2 separate regions of the Homo sapiens genome follow, and region 2 is linked to region 1. The links are contacts of gene promoters, found by promoter capture Hi-C in human tissues and cell types (Jung and others, 2019). All regions are on one chromosome and are shown on one strand. Each heading gives the region's core, a stretch centred on a gene start or on the middle of the fragment in contact. The rest is flanking DNA. Distances are from core to core; before and after follow the strand shown. Region 1 holds the start of ZBTB26 (zinc finger and BTB domain containing 26). Region 2 overlaps RABGAP1 (RAB GTPase activating protein 1).

The links. Contacts are between HindIII fragments. The study calls those that stand out against the background at their distance.
Region 2: a fragment that was not itself captured here is called in contact with the fragment with the promoter of ZBTB26 in region 1 in 1 of the 25 tissues and cell types used here (IMR-90 fibroblasts).

What each region holds. Positions count from the first base shown.
Region 1 is chr9:122,928,813-122,935,415 of GRCh38, reverse strand. It overlaps ZBTB26 (zinc finger and BTB domain containing 26), which reads left to right and starts at 3,904. Exons shown (of 2, transcript NM_020924.4): 1 at 3,904-3,979. It also overlaps a transcript of RABGAP1 not described here. RefSeq lists a silencer at 3,793-4,132. The HindIII fragment of the contact is 7,569 bases long and covers 1-6,462 here.
Region 2 is chr9:123,057,072-123,063,674 of GRCh38, reverse strand. All of the region lies in intron 13 of RABGAP1 (RAB GTPase activating protein 1), which reads right to left. It also overlaps the pseudogene LOC100422501. Among named protein-coding and RNA genes, the nearest start is that of GPR21, 27 kb to the right of the region's middle. The HindIII fragment of the contact is 5,392 bases long and covers 850-6,241 here.

The DNA of each region.
Region 1 (6,603 bases), core at 2,655-5,154:
CAGTGAGCTGAGATTGCACCATTGCACTCCAGCCTGGGTGACAGAGCGAGACTGTCTCAAAAAAAAAAATTATGTTATTGGATATACAATGTATAAAATGTTATCTGTGACATCAGTAACAGAAAGGAAAGGGCAGAGCTTTACATGAGCAGAGTTTTTGTATGATATTGAAGTTAATTGGTATCAATTCAAATTAGATTGTTATAACTTTTGGATGTTGAGTGTAATACCTATGGTAACCACCAATAAAATATCTATAGAATATACACAAAAGGAAATGAGAGGGGAATCAAACGTTTCATGATAAAAAAATCAACTAACACTAACACAAAAAAGCAGTAATGGCAGAAATGAAGATTTAAAAAGCATATAAAACACAAATAGAGAAGTGACAGATATAAATCCCACCTTATCAATAATTACTTTAAATCTAAATGGTTTAAACTCTCCAATCTAAAGACAGAAAGGAGTCAAGGTTAAACTCTCCAATCTAAAGACAGAAAGGAGTCAAGTCCGGGCACAGTGGCTCATGCCTATAATCCCAGCACTCTGGAAGGTCAACGCAGGCGGATTGCTTGATGGGACCGCATGCCTGTGGTCCCAGCTACTCTGGAGGCTGAGAAAGAGAATCGCTTCAACCCATGAGACAGAGACTGCGGTGAGCCAAGACTGCGCCACTGCACTCCAGCCTGGGCAACAGAGTGAGACTCTGTCTCAAAAAATAAAATAAAATAAAATAAAATAAAGGCGTCAAGTGTGGTGTTGCACACCTGTAGTCCCAGCTACTTTGAGAGGCTGAGGCGAGAAGACCACTTGAGCTCAGGAGTTCCAGCTTCAGTGAGCTGTGATCATGCCACTACAATCCAGCCTGGGCAACAGAGTGAGACCCTGTCTCTAAAAATATATTTAATTTTTAAAAAGAAAGGGAAAATTAATTTTAAACACACACACACAATCCACATGCTCCAACTAAATGCTGTCTACAAGAGAATCACTTGACATCCAAAGACACAAATAGATTGAAAATAAAAGGTTAGAGGCCGGGCGTGGTGGCTCACGCCTGTAATCCCAGCACTTTGGGAGGCTGAGGTGGGCGGATCATGAGGTCAGGAGATCGAGACCATCCTAGCTAACATGGTGAAACCCTGTCTCTACTAAAAATACAAAAAAATTAGCCGGGTGTGGTGGCACGCACCTGTAGTCCCAGCTACTCGGGAGGCTGAGGCAGGAGAATGGCGTGAACCCGGGAGGCGGAGCTTGCAGTGAGCCGAGATCACGCCACTGCACTCCAGCCTGGGTGACAGAGCGAGACTCTGTCTCAAAAAAAAAAAAAAGAAAAGAAAAGAAAAGGTTAGGAAAAGGGCCAGGTACAGTGGCTTACAACCGCAGTACTTTGGGAGACCAAAGATAGCTTGAGGCCAGGAGTCCAAGAGCAGCCTGAGGAACATAGCAAGGCGCGGTCTCTACAAAAAAATTTTTTTTTCAATAATTCAAGGAAAAAGGGCTGGACACAGTGGCTCACGCCTGTAGTCCCAGCACTTTGGGAGGCCGAGGTGGGAGGTCAGGAGTTTGAGACCAGCCTGGCCAACATGGTAAAACCCCATCTCTACTAAAAATACAAAAATTAACTGGGCATGGTGGCGTGCACCTGTAATCCCAGCTACTTGGGAGGCTGAGGCAGGAGAATGGCTTGAACCCAGGAGGTGGAGGTTGCAGTGAGCCGAGATTGCCACTGCACTTCAGCCTGGGCGACAGAGCAAGACTCTGTCACAGAAAATAATAATAATTTACAAAAAGTAGCTGGGCATGGTGGCAGGCGCCCATAATCCCAGCTACTCCAGAGCTGAGGCAGGAGAATCACTTGAACCCGGGAGGCGAAGGTGGCAGTGAGCTGAGATGGCACCACTGCACTCCAGCCTGGGTGACACAGTGAGACTCCCTCGCAAATAATAATAATAATAATAATAATAATAATTTAATGAAAAAAGATATAACATGCAAATAGTTACTGAAAAAGAGCTGATGTAGTTATACTACCATTAGACAAAATAGATTTTAAAATTTGAAAAGGTTATAAGAGACAAAGACATTATATATTAATAAAAGGCTCATTACAACAAGATTATATAAAAATTATAGGCATTTACCTCGCTAGGAACAGACTCTCAAAATACATGAAGCAAAAATGGACAGAATTAAAAGGAGAAATAAACAGTTCTACAATAATAGTGGGAGACTACAATACCCCATTTTCAGTAACGGGGAGAAGAATCAGATAGAAGATAAGTGAGGAAATAGAGGAACTAAGCATCATAATAAACCAGCTATACTTAAAAGACATATACAGAACATTCCACCCAGCAAGAGCAGAATACACATTCTTCTCTAAAGCACATGAGGTATTCACCAGACTGTATGCCACAATTCAAGTTTCATAATATTTTACAAGATAGATATCATACAAAGTATCTTCTCGGACCACACAGATGAAGTTATAAATTAATAACAGAAGGAAAACTGGAAAAGTCACAAATATCTGAAAGTTAAACAACACTCTTAACAACTGGGTCAAAGAAGAAATCAAGGTCAGGCACGGTGGCTCACACCTGTAATCCCAGCACTTTGGGAGGCCAAGGCGGGTGGATCACCTGAGGTCGGGAGTTCGACACCAGCCTGACCAACACGGAGAAACCACGTCTCCATATCTCTAAATATCAAATTAGCCCGGTGTGGTGGCGCATGCCTGTAATCCCAGCTACTTTAGAGACGGAGGCAGGAGAACCGCTTGAACCCAGGAGGCGGAGGTTGCGGTGAGCCGAGATCACACCATTGCACTCCAGCCTGGGCAACAAGAGCGAAACTCCATCTCAAAAAAAAGAAAAAAAAAGAAGAAGAAATCAAAAGGGAAATTAGAAAATACTTAGAAATGAATGAAAATAACACAACATACAAAAACTTATGAGCTGTAGTGAAAACAGTGATCAAAGTGAAATGTATAGTTGTAAATAACTACATTAAAAAGAGGGAAAGGCTGGGAGCAGTGGCTCACACATGTAATCCCAGCACTTTGGGAGGCTGAGGAGGGTGGATCACTTTAACTCCAGAGTTCAAGACCATCAAGTTTTACACTTACAAATGATTAAAGTAATAAACATTACGCATGTTTTACCTCAATAAAAAGCCCCTCACCACCACCAAAAACGAAAAGAATGGTCAAAAACCAGTAAACTGGATTGGCAAGGAAAAGAACTCTAGAAGGATCCTCAAGTTTTCCGGTCTGGATAGGAGATGAGATGAACTTGAGATCATTAAAAGGTACTTTCACATCAGGACAGCTGGAGATCTCGTCCATGTAGCTGCCTGGGTTGTGAATGGTCAGCATGAAGTAGGTAACGGAAGCCATGGGAGTGCAAGAGTTTGCCCTAGGAAGAACTCCAAGGCAAGAACCCTGAAAAACACATCCAAAAGTGAGGGGAGAGCTTTCTGCTCTTCGGGCTCCCGCGCGACGAGTCTACACCCCTAGGCTAAAAAGACTTACCAAAGTTTAAGTGCAGAGGAGCCCTTCAGGCCCAAGGAGGCAGCGGACCGTCTAGGCCCAGCTACAGAAGAGCCGCTGAGACGGGGGTCCCGAGCAGCGGGTCCCTGCGAGGCGCACAGGGCCTGAGCCACAGACGCTTACGAGCTAAGGCACCTCGGGGTAGTAGGCAGTGAAGCTAGTGCCCAGAGTACGGTGCCCTCCGTCTGCGCCCCGCCCACAACGCAGAAATTCCCTCTCGGGGCCCCTGTTGTCCTCCGAGCCTTCCGATTGGCGGAGAGGACCATGGGACCTGGAAGTTGTCTTTGTCCGGCCAGGGCTGCCCTTCCGGTTCCGTTGGGTCCCCCTTTGGCTCGGGTTCCTTGCCCCTCCCCCTTCCCGGAGCCCCGAGGGGCCGGAGCTCCTGGCGGTGCCGGATCCTGACGGCGGCCTTCCCCCGGGTCTGTAAGTGCGGAGACGGCCGGAGCGGCGGGCTGGGGTGCGGGGTGTCTCAAAATGGAACCCCCCTGGGGCCCTGGATCAACCGGGACCTGCACTGGGATGGGAGCCGAGAGGCTGGCCTAGGCCCCTGGGGACTTGAGGAGCCCTTGGCCCGGCCCACGCTGCGCCCCGCCCCTTTCCCTTCCCTGTGACTGGAGTGGGGAGCCTGAGGATGCCCCTGGGACCGCCTCATAGGACCCCAGCTGAGGGCCCAGCAGTTGGCTTGGGGGCCTGACTCTGGCATCTTATAAGAAGTGCCAGAGGTGAGGCCCTAAGAAAACGAGCCTCGGGAGCCAGCCCAAGACCAGGCATTCAGTGCCAGTCTTTGAGAACCACTGTGAGTGCTAGGTTACCCTTTTGCTGGGGTTTTCCCCTATTTGGCCACTGGTCGCAGCACCTTTTATATTACTGGCGCTATACCAGACACTGGAGATTGGCAAGATATTGTTCCAGTTTTCGGGATTAAGTTTGGGAGCCAGATCTGAACAAATAAGTACTCCTATGTGTATATATATGTATGTATGTATCAGTCACATATGTGTTAATTGCTCAAGGGGCCGTTGCTGAGAAGGCTTTAGAAAGAAAGTGATGTCTGAATTGTACTTGGAGAGAGTAAAGTGTTGAAGAGTTTTTCAGGGAAGACAGTTGCAATACTGTGGAGAAATGACTGAGCATAACTTGTGTGGGAAGAGGAGGAAATGGGGGGACTCCTATGCACAGAATGGATATGAGACTGGGAAAGTCGACCGAGGTCCAGATGGTGAATGGTGTAATCCTAAAGGAGATGGGTAGTTTTTTGAAGAGTTCGGAACAGAATATTGATATGGTCAGATTTGCACTGCAGGAAATCATTTTGTTCTGTAGAAAGCCCATAGAGAAGGGACTTTCTATTAACTGCATTTAGACATTTAGCTAAAAGTTAGGAACGCTTATCGGAGATTCTTTTGAAGGGGTAATGGGATCAGCCTAGTGAGAGGCAAAAAATTCCTGAAATAAGTTATAATGGTGTCATTGGTAAGGAGACAAATATACTGGAGATGATTATGTCAAGACTCCATAATTAACTGAATGCTGAAGAAGTGTGAGGGACCAAATCTAATTCTTAGGTTTTAGACCTCTGAGCTGAAGGATGGTAATGCCATTATCAGAAATAAAGCCATAAGCTTAGTGTAGATTATGAATTCATTTTTTGGACATGTTGAATTAAAGGTCTAATGAGACAGACACATAGAGCTGTCCAGCATGGAGTTGGAAATGCAAATCTTTAGCTCAGCCTAAACATTGTAGCTAGAGGTAAAAGTTTGAGTTATCAGCATAGAAGTGGAAACCATGGCAATAGCTGGCATCAGGAAGAGAATTTTGAAAAATAAGGAAATTTGGGGGGGGAGGGTAATGCTTGCATTTATGAAGCAGAAAGAGGAATTGGAGCTAGTAGTAGTCAGCAGTAGGCAATAAAGTGTAGGAGTGCAGGGTTACAGCAAGCAAGAAGACCCAGAAATCAAGAGAAGGGAATTTCGAGGAGAGACCACTGGATCAATTCATGCAGAGCATCTGGAGACTTGGGGGAGGGGAGAGTATTGCATTTCTTTATGAAGAGGTCATTAGTGACCTTTTAAAAAGCAATTTAGTACAGTGATGAGGTGATACTCTATGAAATATTAGGTACCTCAGCTGGTTTGGTGTTAAATGGGAATAAGGATAGGACACATTTAAAGCATTTCACAAAGAAAATTGACAGGCTTTATTTGTATACCTAACACATGCTTATAGGGTACATACCAGACACTGTTCTAAGCTCTTTAAAAAATTAAATCATTTATTTTCCATAACAACCCTATGAAATAAATTACTATTGATAGATGGGAATATTGAAGCAGAGTGGTTTGAGTTTACACAGAAAGTAGTTGAGCAGGGTTTTGATCCTAGGAAATACGGCTCCAGAGTCCATGGTTTTACCCACTGCTCTATGCAGTGACTGAATATAGGAGCCAAAGGAGTGGGAAACATTTAAGCAAAGAGAGGCTCATTGATAAGAATGGAGAGGCTTGGAAAGAGACCCAGGTTGAGAAGAAGGTAAGTAAAGGATTTATGTTTGATATGTTTTTTATTTCTTTCTTCCTAAGTCCGTTTCCACTCTCTGCCCATTTAGGTTAATTTCTTCCACTTTCATGCTTTCATTTATCACTTACCATCTGTAATCAGATCTTTTCTTCATATCCATCCAGCTCATGAATCCTCACCTTGATGTCATGCAGGCTTCTCTGGCTCAAGACCAGACTCATGATCATGCCCTCCAATATTCCCTGCTTTGCTGAATGACATTCATCAAAGATATCCAGTTACAGAAACCAAATATCTTGGAGTCATCTTGACCCTTTCCCCACATTGGTCACCAAGCCCATCAGTTCTTTGTTGGAAATGTCTCTCAAATCTGTTTCCCCTCTCCATCCATATTATTGTTGTCTCTCTTCAGGCCCATGCCATTCTGTCTTGATCTGTTTAGAGTAATCACATACTAAAATGCTTCCTTGTACTTTTCTCCAAGCCATTCTCCATAAGAAATTTTTTTGGCTTATTGAAGTTTAGAC
Region 2 (6,603 bases), core at 2,296-4,795, 130 kb before region 1:
TATAACACATGGCAAATAAGCACTTGAAAAGATGTCAACATTACTAGCCCTCAGGGCAGTGCAAATTAAAACCACAATGAGATTCCACTACATATCTACAAAATGCTAAAATTAAGAAGTGTTGGCAAAGGATAAGAAACAACTGGAACTCCTATACAATGCAAAATGGTACAAACACTTTGTAAACAGTTTGGTGGTTTCTTACAATAGTAAACACATAATTACCATACAACCCAGTGATTCCATTCCTAGGTATTTACCAAAGAGAACTGAACATATAAATGCATGAAAAGACTTAAACTCAAATGTTTACAGAAGCTTTATTCCTAACAGCCAAAACTGGAAACAATCCAGAGAGAATCAGATGAATTTAGGAATTCTATAAAACAACAACAGAAGCTCTAAAAAATGCTAAGAATGATAAACTGTGGTTTAAGACAACTACGAAGGTTAGGAAATTAAATTGAGAATGGAGAGGAATATGGAAACGTTCAAAATATTTTACACCAGTTACATCAATCATATCACACTGATTACGGAGATGACAACCTGAAAAAGGATACAGTTATTAGAGATATGAGATTTGGGCTGGGCATGGTAGCTTATGCCTGTAATCCCAGCACTTTCAGAGGCTGAGACAGGTGGGTCACTTGAGGCCAGGAGTTTGAGACCAGCCTGGCAACATGGTGAAACCCTGTCTCTGACTACAAATACAAAAATTAGCCAGGCATGGTGGCAGGTGCCTGTAATCCCAGCTACTTGGAAGGCTGAGGCATGAGAATCGCTTGAGCCAGTGAAGCAGAGGCTATAGTGAGCCAACATCGTGGCACTGCACTCCAGCCTGGGCGACACAGCGAGACCTGTCTCAATTAAAAAAAAGAGAGAGAGAGGAGACGAGATTTAGAAATTCAACTGTACACAGGACGTAAAAAATAACAAAAAACTGAAAGTACTCTCTATAACTGGGCCAGTTCTTGTCAATTTGCCATCCCATATCCATTAATCATGGAATTATCAGAGAATGAAGGGGCAAAATGCCCTTAAAAGAAGGTCATTTTGAAAATTCACACTCAATTTTTGATGCCTTCAAGAATGATAATAAATTGAGGAGTTCCATGTGAATCATTTGCTTAAAATATTTGGCCTTAAGGAAATATGCTGAAGAACTTGGAATAAATTCATTTGACTTGCTGGAGGCCACATCATGCAAAAGTGATGCAGAAATTCTAATAATGATGAGTTTAGTAAGTTCCTATCAGAATGACATTAAATTTGAAAAGGTTCTGAAAATAAAACACAGCAACATTATGGATGATCCCCTAAGAGAAAAAAAGCAAAGAGCTTTTCAAAATAGTCAAAGCAAGTGCTTACAAAATTAAGCTTTATACAACAATATATATTCCTTTTCTTTCTTGTTTCGCTCTTGTCGCCCAGGCTGGAGTACAATGGAGCAATCTTGGCTCACCGCAACCTCCGCCTCCCTGATTCAAGCGATTCTCCTGCCTCAGCCTCCCAAGTAGCTGGGATTACAGGCATGTGCCACCACGCCTGGCTAATTTTTGTATTTTTAGTAGAGACGGGTTTTCTCCACGTTGGTCAGGCTGGTTTTCAACTGACCTCAGGTGATGCGCACGCCTTGACCTCCCAAAGTGTTGGGATTACAGCTGTAAGCTACCACACCCGGCCATATTCCTTTTATTTCTAAGGAGTTAAACATAAATGTAACTGATGTAGAGAGCCTGCCAATGCAACACATGTAACACTATTCGTGGCCAAACTGATCAAGTCAACCAAATACATCCTCTTAAGGAGGCTGTAGTTAGTATAATGGCTTAACAGACAAGTTTTTATAAATGTACTTACGGCAACAGTGCACAGATGGTGACTTTAAAAGAACACGGAATGAATGGCAAAAGTATTGTCAGTTGTTACGTTCTGAAAATTACTGCTGTTATAAGAGAGGTGGGTTGTTTTGTTTTGTTTTGTTTTGTTTGATCAACTGGTTTTGTGTTTTGGCTAATTCATTTATCCCAAGAAAAACACCCTTAATTTCCAGAAGAAAACAAAAATGCAATAGGATTATGCACTATTGCCATCTTGCAAACTTCTTCTATAAAGGGTCAGGTAAAAATTTTTGGCTTTGCAAGCCATTCAGTGCTGCAGTTATTCAACTCTTCCCTTGTAGAGCAGCCATAGACAATATGTAAATAAACAAGCACTGCTGTGTCCTAACAAAACTTTATTTATAAAAGCAAGCGCATGCCAGGCGCAGTAGCTCATGCCTGTAATCCTAGCACTTTGGGAGGCCGAGGCGAGTAAACCACTTGAGCCCAGGAGATTGAGACCAGCCTGGGCAACATGGCAAAATCTCATCTCTACAAAAATACAAAAATTAGCCGGGCGTGCTGGCATACACCTGTCTTAGCTATTCGGGAGGCTGAAGCAAGAGGATCCCTTGAGCCCAGGAGGTAGAGGTTGCAGTGAGCCAAGACTGTGCCACTGTGCTCCAGCCTGGGCAGTAAGAGAGAGAGCCTGTCTTATACAACAATAACAACAACAACAAAAATGAATAAACAAAAGTGAGAGGCAAACTGAACCTGGCCCTGAGGTGGTAGTTTGTTAACCCTTGTTATAAGTATACTACAACACAGTAATTTGTTATGGTCAGCATGACCAGAGAGAAGATTTTTGTTATGATTTTAAATATACTAACATGTTATTAATTTTATACATGCTTTGCCCTCAGAAACTTTGTCACAACCTGCTACAACTTGAAATGTATATCTCTTTGAACACTTTTGTACTTTTTTCACATAATAACAAATGTTAAAAATGTTTGCTGCATTTTGCAAAAGTCTGTATATTCCTGTCTATGCAGTGTAGTACACGTTTCAATAAAACCCTGTAATTGTAGTGGTATATAGTCCCTGACATTTCAAGCAGCAAAATAAACAGTATATACAGCTCACAAATTATAAACACAAACTGACACACATGAGACTGGCTAAAATAAAAATACCAAATGTTGGTGAGAATATGAAATTACTGGAACTCTCAATGGTTGCTAATGGGTGTGTAAATGATATAACCACTTTGGTAAAGAACATGGCAGTTTCCCAGAAAGTTAAATATATACCTAACTACCATGACCCAGCAATTCCATTCCTAATACCCTCATGTGTAATAGCCCAACTAGAAACCTCAAATGTCCATCTACAGAAAAAGTGATAAATTATGGTATATCCATCTAATGGAATACTACCCAGCAATACAAATGAACCTCTAATACATGAAACAACACAAATAAATCTCAAAAACATTATGTTGAGCAAAAGCCCATGGTGACAGAAACCGAAATGGTTACCTGGGGGTGGGAGGGAAATCAACTGAAAAGGGGCATAAGGGAACTTTCTGAGATGACAGAAATGTTTATATTTTCTTTGGTGTTTACACAAATATAAGAAATTGTCAAAACTCATCAAAATGAACACATAAGGTGTATGTTTATTGTATGTAAATTATACTACACTCACAAAAACTGTAATCTCACATTCCCCACCTCCCTCCACCAACATTTCTCAACAGTTCTCTATTCTTGTGAATGGCAGCAGGTTTTACCACCTTGTTTCTGATTCTAGCTACCATGAATCATCACTGATCTGGAGATCTTTCTGCAGAGTCTGGATTCTGTCTCTTCCTTTCCACTTCTAGTGCATCACCCAAAGGCAGACCCATGCTTCATCTTACCAAGACTAATATAACAGCCTAAATGATTGTCTTAGTCGCTTTGGGCTACTCTAACAAAATATTACAAACTGGGTGGCTTATAAACAACAGGAATTGTTTTTACAGTCTGGGAGGCTGGAAATTCCAAGATCAAGATGCTGGAAAATTCAGTGTTTGGTGAAGGGTCGCTTTGCAGCTCATAGGTGGCATGTGCTTGCTGTGTTCTCATATGGGGCAGGGCAGCTCTCTAGGTCTCTTCTTTATAAGAGCACAAATCCCATGCATAAGGACTTTGCCCTCATGACCTAATCACCTCCCAAAGGCCCCATCTCCTAACAGCATCACATTAGTGATTAGTTTTTTTTGTTTTTGTTTTTTAATTTTTATTTATTTTGAGACGGAGTATCGCTCTGTCACCCAGGCTGGAGTGCAGTGGCGCAATCTCGCCTCACCGCAACCTCCGCCTCCCGGGTTCACGCCATTCTCCTGCCTCAGCCTCCTGAGTAGCTGGGACTACAGGTGCCCGCCACCACGCCTGGCTAATTTTTTTAATTATTTAGTAGAGACGGGGTTTCACTGTGTTAGTCAGGATGGTCTCGATCTCCTGACCTCGTGATCCGCCCGCCTCGGCCTCCCAAAGTGCTGGGATTACAGGTGTGAGCCACCTTGCCTAGCCATGGTTAGGTTTTAACATATGAATTTTGGGGGGACATAAACATTCAGACCATAACACTGATCTTCCTTTATCTCTTTACTTCTACTGGCACAACCGTGTCTGATTAATTTTTCTGAAATGCATGGACCAATCAGATCATTTTGCTGGTCATAAACTTTTATGAGTCATTATTACTATGTATACAGGAGGAGGTCCATGCCTTCTCCTTCATACTGACCACTTCACAAGTAGACTGAACACTAATCTGATTTCAGAATACCACTTGAACCATGTAGTAAGTAGGGTCACTGCTGACAAAGGCACCCAGGACATTTTGTTCTCTCTCAAATGCATGCTGCAATATCCTGAGTATCTGGGGCATGCTGGGGGAAGACTGGAGCATTACAAAGAGAAAGGCCTTTAAACCCAGACATATATTCAAGTCCAATGTGCTGCTGGTGGCTCCCAGTTAACAAATTAAACCTTGTTTTCCACTTGTCACTCTTCCTTGTGTTTATATTTCTTTGAAAACTTCAAGAGAAAAAGGGGTGACTGGCATGGCACAATTTGGGCATTGTTGGAAGTAATTCTATTTAAAACTATACTGTAAAATATCAGCACTTCTTAAATTTATTCACTAAACAAATACTGAGAATTAACGCCTCATGCTAAAATCCAAATCTCTTTCCCAAACATAACCTAAAATCAATGATATACCTTACTGCATTTTAAAAGGAAAAAAAAAAAATCTAACTTTTGGCTTTCTTAGTATAATAAAACCTTTTTGTTTTCTTATTTTAATAAAATTGTTTTGCTTTTTTGTAACAATAATACTGGAAGGAAAAAGAAGAATTTTACCATTCAGATAATAACTATGGCTAATATTTGGTTCGCATATGCCAAACTTTTTAGGTTATAACCATTTATTTTTATAAAATGAGTGTAGATTTTAGAAAAATTTTTTTTTGCTAACTACAAAATATTGTATCTTTTCATATTATTTGGCCATTATCCTACCTTAGTATTTTTAATGCACAGTAACCTGTCACACTATTATACCATAATTTACTCTGCCAAAATCTCCAGCTTTGGGATATGCAGCTATTCTACCCCTTTTGCTATAAACAAGGTTGTAAAGTAGAACAGTGATTCTTAAGGGAGAAAAGACAGTTTCCACAATCACTCAATTTCCCTAAAGAAACAGCATTCTCCCTCTCCCTCCTCCCCCTCTCCCCCTCTCCCCTCTCTTTCCACGGTCTCCCTCTGATGCCGAGCCGAGGCTGGACTGTGCTGCTGCCGTCTCGGCTCACTGCAGCCTCCCTGCCTGATTCTCCTGCCTCGGCCTGCCCAGTGCCTGTGATTGCAGGCGCGCGCCGCCACGCCTGACTGGTTTTCGTATTTTTTTGGTGGAGACGGGGTTTTGCTGTGTTGGCGGGGCTGGTCTCCAGCTCCTGGCCGCGAGTGATCCGCCACCCTCAGCCTCCCGAGGTGCTGGGATTGCAGACGGAGTCTCGTTCACTCAGTGCTCAATGGTGCCCAGGCTGGAGTGCAGTGGCGTGATCTCGGCTCGCTACAACCTCCACCTACCAGCTGCCTGCCTTGGCCCCCCAAAGTGCCGAGATTGCAGCCTCTGCCCGGCCACCACCCTGTCTGGGAAGTGAGGAGCGTCTCTGCCTGGCCGCCCATCGTCTGGGATGTGAGGAGCCCCTCTGCCTGGCTGCCCAGTCTGGAAAGTGAGGAGCGTCTCTGCCCGGCCGCCATCCCACCTAGGAAGTGAGGAGCGCCTCTTCCCGACCGCCATCCCATCTAGGAAGTGAGGAGCATCTCTGCCCGGCCGCCCATCGTCTGAGATGTGGGGAGCGCCTCTGCCCTGCCGCCCCGTCTGGGATGTGAGGAGCACCTCTGCCCGGCCGCAACCCCGTCTGGGAGGTGAGGAGCGTCTCTGCCCGGCCGCCCCGTCTGAGAAGTGAGGAGACCCTCCGCCCGGCAACCGCCCCATCTGAGAAGTGAGGAGCCCCTCCGCCCAGCAGCCGCCCCATCTGAGAAGTGAGGAGCCCCTCCGCCCGGCAGCCACCCCGTCTGGGAAGTGAGGAGCGTCTCCGCCCGGCAGCCACCCTGTCCGGGAGGGAGGTGGGGGTCAGCCCCCGCCAGGCCAGCCGCCCCGTCCGGGAGGGAGGTGGGGGGGTCAGCCCCCCGCCCGGCCAGCCGCCCCGTCCGGGAGG